2 separate regions of the Homo sapiens genome follow, and region 2 is linked to region 1. Evidence: promoter capture Hi-C in 16 types of primary human blood cells and fetal thymus (Javierre and others, 2016). All regions are on one chromosome and are shown on one strand. The core of a region is centred on a gene start or on the middle of the fragment in contact, and the rest is flanking DNA. Distances in the headings are between cores, read along the strand shown. Region 1 holds the start of RPF2 (ribosome production factor 2 homolog). Region 2 overlaps CCN6 (cellular communication network factor 6).

Region 1 (5,063 bases), core at 2,147-4,646:
ATCTAGCATAATGAAAACCAGACAGATCAATTAAATAGAATTGTGGGTCCAGAAATAAACCCTTACAATTATGGTCGATTGATATTGCAAAAGGATGCTAAGACAATTCAATGGAGAAAGAATAATCTTTTCAACAAATGATGCTGGGACAACTGGATATCCATATACAAAAGAATAAAGTTGAACCCCTATCTCACACCATATATCAAAATAAAAATGGACCAAAGGCTTAAATATAAGAGCTGCAATTAAAAATGTTTGAAAGAAGACATAGGGTAAATCTTTGTGATGTTGGAATAGGGAATGGCTTCTTAGATATGATACCAAAAGCACAGGCAACAAAAGGAAAAAATATGTAAACTGGGCTTCAACAAAGTTCAAAAGATCTGTGCTGAAAAGCACATTAACAACAAGATAACGCCTACTAAATGGGATAAATATTTGCAAATTATGTATCAGGTAAGGGACTTATATCTGGAATACATGAGAAAATATTAGAACTCAACAATAAAAGGACAACCCAATTTAAAAACCGGGCAAAGGATTTGGATAGGCATTTTTCCAAAGAAGATATAAAAATGGGTAATCAATCAGCACATGAAAACATGCTCACCATCATTTGCCTTGCCATCAAGGAAATGAAAATCACAATGAGATACCACTCATATCTGTTAGGATGGCTTAATAAAACAGATGGACAATGCTAAGTTTTGGTGAGGAGTGGAGAAATTGGAACCTTTGGTAGATAGAACAATGCTTCCTTCAACTCCCAGCCCAAAGATGTTGAGAACCCCCAGGTATCTGTGAATATGTTACTTTATATGCCCAGAAGGAATTTGCTATACGATTAAGGATCTTGAGATTATCATGGATTATCCAGGTGATGCCCATGTAATCACAAGGGTTTTATTAAGAGGGAGTTAGGAGTGTCAGAGCATCAGAGAAAAAGATGTGACAATGGAAGAAGTTCAACTGATGATCTTTGAAGATGGAGAAATGCCAAAGTATGCAGACAGTCTACAGAAGCTGGAAAAAGCCAAGAAACCGATTCTCCCCTGAAGCCTCCAGGTGGAATGTAGTCCTACTGACTTCTTCATTTTATTTATTTATTTATTTAATTTATTTATTTATTTACTTAAGAGACGGAGTCTTACTCTGTTGCCCAGGCTGGAGTGCAGTGGTGCGATCTCAGCTTACCGCAACCTCCACCTCCCAGGTTCCAGTGATTCTCTTGCCCCAGCTTCCCAAGTAGCTGGGACTAGAGGCGTGCCACCACGCCTGGCTGATTTTTTGTATTTTTAGTAGAGATCGGGTTTCATGGTGTTAGCCAGGATGGTCTTGATCTCCTGACCTCATGATCCGCCCACCTCAGCCTTCCAAAGTGCTGGGTACAGGTGTGAGCCACTGCTTCCGGCCTACATTTTAGACCTGCAAAACTGATTTCAGACTTCTGACTTCCTGAAGTATAAAATAATAAATGTGTGATAATTTGTTACAACAGAAATAGGAAACTAATACCAAACTCTCTTACATTGCTCATGGGAATTTAAGTGGTGCAGGTGCTTTGGAAAACAGTTTACCAGTGCCTCAAAATGTTACACTTAAGAGTCAGCATATGACCCAGCAATTTTTCTCCTAGAGAATTGAAAATGTATGTCCACACAAAAATTTGTACACTAATATTCAAAGCAGCTGGGTGTGGTGGCACGCGCTTGTGGTCCCAGCTACTCGAGAGGCTGAAGCACTAGAATCACTTGAACCCAGGAGATGGAGGTTGCAGTAACCTGAGATTGCATCACTGCACTCCAGCCTGTGTGACAGAGTGAGACTCTGTCTCAGAAACAAAACAAAGCAAAGCAAAACAAAACAAAAAAACACAAAGCAGCATAATCCATAATAGCCAAAAAATAGGAACCATTCAAATGTACATAAGCTGCCGGGTACAGTAGCTCACGCCTGTATTCCTAGCACTTTGAGAGGCCAAGGCGGGTGGATTACCTGAGCTCAGAAGTTCAAGACCAGCCTGGCCAACATGGTGAAACCCTGTCTCTACTAAAAAATACAAAAGTTAGCAAGGTGTGGTGGTGCGTGCATGTAATCCCAGCTACTTGGGAGGCTGAGGCAGAACTGCTTGAACCCGGGAGGTGGACGGCGCAGTAAGCCAAGATCGCACCACTGCACTTCAGCCCTGGCGACAGAGCAAGACTATGTCTAAAATAAAAAAAGTACCTAGGTTGATAAATGGATAAACAAAATGTGGTATATCCATACAAAGGAATATTATTCAGTCCTAACAAAATGGAAGTACTGATCCACGCTACATGTATGAACCTCAAAAAGATAGTGAAAGAAGTCAAACACAAAAGGCCATACGTTGCACGAAACCATTTATATATGTTCAGAATAGGCAAATCCATTGAACATAAAGTAGATTATTGGTTGCCAAGGGCTGGCAGGAGGGGGAAGTGGGGCATGGACTGCTACTGGGTGTGTGTGTCAGGGGGGTTCTTTTTGAGGTGATTAAATATTCTGGAATTAGTGGTGATATTTGCACATCTTTGTGAATACACCAAAAATCACTGAATTGTACACTGTAAAGGGGTACATTTTATGGTATGTGAAGTATATGGTAACTTAAAAACTGGGGAAAAATCACGAACAGCAGTACATTTTCTGCGCATCTTTTATGTACTAGGCAACTGTGGTAGTCATAAATTCTGTCACACAGATCGCATAGTTGTCAATAGTGCCCCTTTCACATCAATGTTTTTAGTGCTTATGTGAGTACCTACCGTGCAATCAATCAACCTTTCTAGCATCCTGGGATTCCTTGAAGAATAAAATCTGGTTTCTGAATACCTGACTCCAGGTATGCACACTAGCGCGTACATCAAACTGCGAGGGTCTATGTTATTTTATTTTATTTTTATTTTATTTTTGAGACGAAGTCTCGCTCTGTCACCCAGGCTGGAGTGCAGTGGCGCGATCTCCGCTCACTGCAACCTCCGCCTCCCGGGTTCAAGCAGTTCTCCCTGCCTCAGCCTCCCGAGTAGCTGGGGTTAGAGGCGCCCGCCACCACGCCCGGCTAATTTTTGTATTTTTAGTAGAGACGGGGTTTCGCCATGTTGGCCAGGCTGGTCTCGAACTCCTGTTATCAGGTAATCCGCCCGCCTGGGCCTCCCAAAATCCTGGGATTACAGGCGTGAGCCACCACGCCCGGCCAGTGTTACTTAAAAGTATTACCTCGCACCTGTAACTCCAGGAAAGAGCCGGGGCAAAAATCCGTAACCAAGACAACAGGGCGCGATTCCAATCAAGATGGCCGCCAGCGCCTCTAGACGCCCTCTACGAGGCCGTCCCCGGAAGTGGCGTTACGCGCAGCTTCCGGTTCCGCCTGTTCCGGCGCACGTAATCGCCGAGGGCACGTGCATGCCCCCTGGTTAAGAGTTGCAGGTAGCGGTAGCGATGGACACTCTGGATCGAGTAGTGTAAGTGCGCTGGGTCTCAGCCCCGGGGAGCGTTGGGGTGAAAGGGTCCCGTGATGAGGGTGGTACTGTCTCGGCCTCTCACTCTTCCTGGTTACCCCTCTAATTACCTGGGTGGGGGCCGATCGATCACCAGCCCGGGTCCTCCTCAGCGCGAGCTGCTTGCCAGGAGACAGTGGGGAAGCTCTCAAGTGGGAGCCGTGGGATGGGAGGGATGTGGGATTGAAGCGTTGGCCGCTTTTATCCTAGCCAGTTGAAAAACGTCTGACTTCCGAAGTATGAGACAGATGGTATAGTGGGGTTAGGAGCACAGCCCTCGGAATCCGACAGATCTGAGTGACAGTCTGGCGCGTCCACTTAAAGCTTTGTGACTTTGGGTCATTAAATATCTCTAAATCTTAGCTTATTCTGTAAAATAGCGCTCACCATAGTCATACTTCATAGAGCTGTGAGGGTTAGTTTCGAGAATGTATGTAGAGCCTTTGCTGCAGCACGTAGAAATGTTCATTAGTTTTTTCTTTTCCTTCCAACTTTGTACACTCCTCTGAGTTATCCTTGAATGATACCTGTTTTAAATTTGTTCAAGAATATTTGGGCTAAACAGCCCTGCTGTTACTTGCTGTGATTTTCTTGCTATTTACCTAAGTTAACATGTATCCAAAACGACAGTTTTAGTCATTCAGAGATTTTGCACACCTGCTATGCCTCTAGCTGTTTGGACTACAAAGAGTAGTTTACTAGGTATTGGGACTAGTTCACACGTTAATTGGGAGCAGGCAGCTAATAAAACATGTTAATTGCTATTTGCATTTGTTGCTGTTTAATGAGATACAAAAGATAGAATAATTTGTATCTTTATCAACCAGTAAATGATCAGAAGCTTTATATGTGACATTATATCTGGAGGAGTATTTTAAAAATCTACATGGGAAACTTAAGTGTATGTATGGTCTCTTTTTCTTCCCAAAGTGTCCATGGGACTGGACGAGGGAGGGTCATAATTATTTGGGAGGAAGAATTCTTTCAGTAGATGGCAGAGAACTGTCTGAAAAGCAAGGTGCTCATTGTAGAGGAAGCAGAGGTGAAGCCCCTCTTTTGAACAGAAGTGTGTAAAAACATGCCACTCCTACTGTCACATCATAAAGTCAGAATAATGAATTTATTTTCCCTTCATATTTTACAGGGTAATTGGTCTAGACGAATTTTTAAATCTAGCTTTAAAAAATTTGTTTTTTTTTGAGACAGGGTATCACTCTGTCACCCAGGCTGGAGTGCAGTAGCCCCATCACAGCTCACTGCAGCCTCGACCTCCCTGGGATCAAGCAGTCCTCCTACCTCAGCCTGCTGAGTAGCTGGGACTATAGGCGCACACCACCACAGCTAATTTTTGTATTTTTTGTAGAGACAGGGTTTTGCATTGTTGCCCAGGCTGGTCTCGAACTTCTGGGCTCAGTGATCCATCCACCTTGGCCTCCTAGAGTGTTTTTATTACAGGCTGTGGGCCACCTCCCAGCCCTAGCTCATTTTAAAAATTGGCCTGTTTACTTGCTGTGTGATCTTGGGCACATTACCTGTCTG
Region 2 (5,362 bases), core at 2,154-4,653, 1.1 Mb after region 1:
TAAGTACCTGGCAAGGAAAAATACAAGATTACCTCTACAGTTTGATTCATGCCAAGGCACCAGCAGTTCAGTTTTAGCCACAGTTGCTTTTGTAGCACCGGTGCAAATACCAACACAGTGAAAAAGGCCAGCCACATCTTAGTATTTGGAAAAGAGTTTTGACCTTGCAGATCCCCTAAAAGTGTCTCAGGTACTGCCAAGGGATTAGAGGACCACACTTGGGGAACAGCCTATCCAGAAAGTCAAGAATACCCATCAGAGGAAGGGAAACTCTCCTGCAATCTCTTAACAAAAACCATCAGTACCTTGCGGTTCTGTAGTTAACTAACGTATAGTTTCTTCAGACATTCACTTATCCTGTCTTCCTAAGACTATATCCTAGCCTATTGTTGGATGTCTGAGAAAACCTGTCTCACTAGGCATTAACCTGTCTCAGATTTATTATCAACCACTATACTTATGGTGATTTTACAGGGTCTTTACTTGGTCTTAATTCTGGAAGTGACCATGTGGGGTTTATAGCCTGCAATATAATAAAAATGCCTCACTTTAGAAACCTTTCTACAGATGTCCTGTGAAGGAGGTTCCAAATGGAACCTAAGAGGTTGAGAGCTATACTTCATACAGGAGATGATCCGTTTCTTCTTAGGTTTATAATTGGAGGTCTAGACTATCACAGATCATGGCTTCTTTGGCAATTTTGCTCTTTTCTCTTTTCAGACCTTGTAGCTGTTGGGTGCGAGTTCAACCAGGTACATTATCATAATGGCCAAGTGTTTCAGCCCAACCCCTTGTTCAGCTGCCTCTGTGTGAGTGGGGCCATTGGATGCACACCTCTGTTCATACCAAAGCTGGCTGGCAGTCACTGCTCTGGAGCTAAAGGTGGAAAGAAGTCTGATCAGTCAAACTGTAGCCTGGAACCATTACTACAGCAGCTTTCAACAAGCTACAAAACAATGCCAGGTGCTCAGAAGTAGAGCTATTTTTCACGTATGACCTTGGTGGTATTCCTTCATGTTCCTTTTACGTATCATAGGTACTCAGTAAGTACTTGTTGATTGGTGGTCAGAGTGAGATATAGTTTGAGTGTATCATTTTACTTAATCTTTGCCTCAGACAGGGATAAATATCTGCAAAGGAAATTTTATAATGTTTTAGAATTTTCTGGTAAAACATTTAAAAACATTTTTAAAAGATCTACTAGGTCAGGAAGCTCTACTAAAATCTTACACCTCTGCTTATTTCTAACCTCTTCTCAGGAAAATTGACCAAATATTGTTCACATGTACCCTAGAACAACTTATTTTTATTGTTCTATTATGGGCAAGAAGTTTGACCATTCACTTCCCCAAATTTTAAAAGGTAACATTTCTATGTGATACAGGCAGAAATGGGAGGCTACTGCTGAAAAATATTTAAGAACTGACACATATTTTGAACTTGTAAATATTATTTCTAAAAATAGAAATCTCGTAGGAAGTCCTTTCCCTCACTCTGAAATTGAAGCTCAATTGTTAATCTCTCTGTAAACACACACACACAAACACACACACGCACACACACACAAACACACACGCACACACACACGCACGCACACACACACACACACAAACACACACATGCACACACACAGGCATTTTTAAGTAGGTTACCCATGTATCTATGTTCTCAGAAAAATGAAGTGTGATCCTTCATTACTCATCTTGTGTATCTGGCCATTTCAAACAGCTTAAGTATACTTATAAACCTTGTATTCTGGTCTGCTCTAAGTTAGCATTTTATTTAAGCATCAGCATATTTTGGGAACAGGAGTTTCAGAACCACCAGCAAATAAAGTATAGAGGAGGAGGGACTCAAAAGGGGCAACATCGAAGTCTGGTTCTTGTTCACATCTCTGTGTTCTCATCCAGAAATCAAGAATGCCTTTTTCTTAAAGTTTAGAGCTTAGTGAGAGGTGCCATGGAAATGCAGAATACTTGAATATGTTAACAACTCATGAGTTCACTTTTATTAAGTGGATATTTAATAAAGGCAACTATAAGCAGAGAAATGAGTTTAGATATTTAAGAACTAACTCTATGAAAGGAACATCCTCAGCAACTCCAGTTTTGTCAGTAAATTAGAAAAAAAATTTACTAGGTTGTTGTGAATTTGCATTTACTATACATGTTCAGTTGACAGCATGACACTGTTAATGCTCTGAAATCTCTGAAATTATAAGCCATGTCCTTATTTTTTTTTTTCAAAATGTACAGAACAGTTGGTTTTCTGCATTGGATTTTAGTCATTCAGTATAAGGCTCTTAGAACCCACACATAAACTTCCCTGGGAAGACTACCTTAGAGCAGTTTTCCACAAGTGAAGCCCTTTGGATCAAGTTCAAGTTGGTCTCATTTTAGAAGTTAGAGCAGTTCAGTGGATTCACTTTGACCTTGGTTGGGAGAGGCATCAGATAGTCAGTCTTAGTAGTTAGTGTTTTGTCAGGTAAAACAAGAAAATCTCCTGAAGTGTTCTCTGGTATTTATGATTTAGACCTAGGTGTGTTTCAAATGAAGTATACGTTCAGTCTAATGTCTCTTCTTTGCTTAACTGTGAAATTATATTTATGGCCCACACAGGAATTTGGCTTTTAAAATTAACCATAATGACAAAAACACATACTTTTAGATATATTTGTGACAGTAATTTATAGTCTATGGTTGGAATCTAGCTTTTGCTAGGTCAGTATGAAGCACGCAATGACATAATGCCCTCATGCTTTTTTCAATGCCCTCATGCTTTTTTCAATGCTCACCAAACACTAAGCTTTGTTTAAAAAATCTCTTCTAGTTTTCTTGCTTTTTAATGAATGGTAAATTCCTGAACTACAGCTGTCGGTTTAACAAGTGGGATTACTGGTAACACGGTAATCTAACCTGCCTTTATTTATTGCAGATGTGTGCCAAGCTTCTAATCTGCTTCCTGCATTGAGGTCTTTAAACTGTTGTCTACCTTCCAGGTATCTTCACGTTTCTGCTTCCTCTCCTCAGTTCTATGTGCAATTGCAAGAGACTCTACTGTCATAACACTGAAAGCAGTGTCACAGTATCAATTAAAATAGAGCACATACTTTAAAGAGACTATTTCCTATGAAGAAGGCTTTTTTTTTTTCTGGGTGTTTTTCGAGTTTTAAGTTGATTTTTTTGAAGTAATATAGCCAGAATTTTGCTGTGCAGACTCAAATCACAACCATACTCCCAAAGCATCCATTTCAAGATGCACATTAACCTTAAGGAAATGCCTTGAGACAGTAAGTCAATATGTAGTTTGCTTAAAATGAGCCAAGGGCCTGATTCATTTATAAGAAGAAGCTCCCAGTGACCTTACATGGAAATGGGAGCATTATTAGACCCTCTTATATTCTCTCTTCCCCTCCTATTTCTCCTTAGCAGCACATTGGAAGGGCTCTATCTACTCACTCACTGACCCATCTATTGATCCATCCATTCTGTTTTTTCATATGTAATTCGAAATCTTAGCCAATTGGAGAGTACTTTGGGCCTAAGAACATAGGGAGTGTGACAATTAAGTTGAATGAATGAAATTATACGCTTGCAATGACTTTCTATATAAATGATTAGTTTAGTTCAGTGTAGTATTAATTAGACAGTTTTCTAAAAGACTAGATTAAAACAAATGGAAGAAATCTGGTCTCACTGATAGTCTCATTCTCAAATATAATTTTTGTATTTTAGATTTTAACATATTATGAAAGTTAACATTAAGATCACACTGTTCTGATCAAATTCCCTAATTTTTATTTCAATGTCTGTTAGAAATGATGAGGCAAGAACAAGGGAAAAGACAACTCAACAGGAACATAAGCTTAGGTTTAGTATTCAGAGGACAGGCAAAGCAGAAAAATGCAAATGAGTAAATCTTCTCAGTTTTTCAAAGATAAAGTATTTTTATTCCTCCTAAGAGACTGGACTGTAATACTTGATTGAAAGTTAATTTTGGGGTTGGGAAAGAGGGAGATAGAGTGATAAATTAGACCATCGGCTTCTTTTATTCTGAGTTATATTATACAAAAATACTCAGATTTCTTAAACATTAAACATGATTAAAAATTATCTATTTATACAAGTACATTTATATGTATACATATGTACTTTTCTCCCTTTGTTTTAGCTTATAGAAATCTCCCACTTATTTGGAAAAAAAAATGTCTTGTGCAAGCAACAAAATGGACTCCCTGCTCCAGAACATGTGGGATGGGAATATCTAACAGGGTGACCAATGAAAACAGCAACTGTGAAATGAGAAAAGAGAAAAGACTGTGTTACATTCAGCCTTGCGACAGCAATATATTAAAGACAATAAAGGTAAAGTTTAAATATATTTAACTTAATTCAATATTAAGAGATTCCTGAAAAGTAAGCATGTGTGTGTTTTGGAGGGTGGGATGGTGTTTAGTTCTTAGAAAAATAAAAGCATCTCATTATAATGCTTAAAGTCAAACTATTTCAGAGGAAAACAGGTATTAACTGCATGTTGTGGGGAAAATTTTACCAACCAGAGCAGATTCTAACTTCTTTTTTCTATGTTAATGAATAAAAGATTTTGGTTGCTACACTATAATTATGAAAACAGATATTATGAACATCAGAGTAGAGAAGTCCTGATCTTAGTTATATATCACTAACTTGGAAGGAAGCCACACCATTTCCAAAATGCTCTATGCTTACATAGTAAACTTGCTAAAACACTATGATAAAATATTTACCCTAAGATTGTTTGGTATAACTAGAGCTGGTCCTGCTTCTTGAATGAGGCAGTAAGTCTGTCTCAAAAAGGGTAATTTTTAGAAATGCTACACAATCCTTCTACCCCAAAGTTATTCTCTATCATATTAGCAAGTTGACAATTCAGTTTTAAAGAAAGATTAGGATAATTATTCATCTATGCATCCACTGAAAACTGTCTGGGCTGTGTTATGGAATTTGCTAAGTCTTAGATAAATATTTAATAAGACATGGCTCTTGATATTAAACAAAACAGAAATTTCTATTTATTGTAAAATTGAGTCAAGAATAGATAGCAAAAAACATTGAGGAGTACGTGCTATAATATGATGAAGAATAGAGAGGACAGACCTCTGATAAGAAGGGGATCTTAAGGGTAAAGAGAGTGCTGGAAATCACTACATAGCAACTTTTATTAATGCCTCCAAATACTCAGATTTGTACTATAAACTATTCTACATGTTTTCAAAACTATTGTAATAAAATTTAAAGAATGACTTCATTTTATCTATCTTTTCAGATTCCCAAAGGAAAAACATGCCAACCTACTTTCCAACTCTCCAAAGCTGAAAAATTTG

What was found. Contacts are between HindIII fragments. The CHiCAGO score rates a contact against its expected background, and 5 or more counts as called.
Region 2: a fragment that was not itself captured here is called in contact with the fragment with the promoter of RPF2 in region 1 in 1 of 17 cell types (non-activated CD4 T cells); the score reaches 5.8 in non-activated CD4 T cells.

Annotation. Positions count from the first base shown.
Region 1 is chr6:110,978,642-110,983,704 of GRCh38, forward strand. RPF2 (ribosome production factor 2 homolog) reads left to right here and starts at 3,397. Exons shown (of 10, transcript NM_032194.3): 1 at 3,397-3,488. The coding sequence starts at 3,466. The HindIII fragment of the contact is 9,963 bases long and covers 1-3,846 here.
Region 2 is chr6:112,064,035-112,069,396 of GRCh38, forward strand. CCN6 (cellular communication network factor 6) reads left to right here. Exons shown (of 5, transcript NM_198239.2): 3 at 721-963; 4 at 4,171-4,364; 5 at 5,305-5,362. Among named protein-coding and RNA genes, the nearest start is that of CCN6, 13 kb to the left of the region's middle. The HindIII fragment of the contact is 918 bases long and covers 2,945-3,862 here.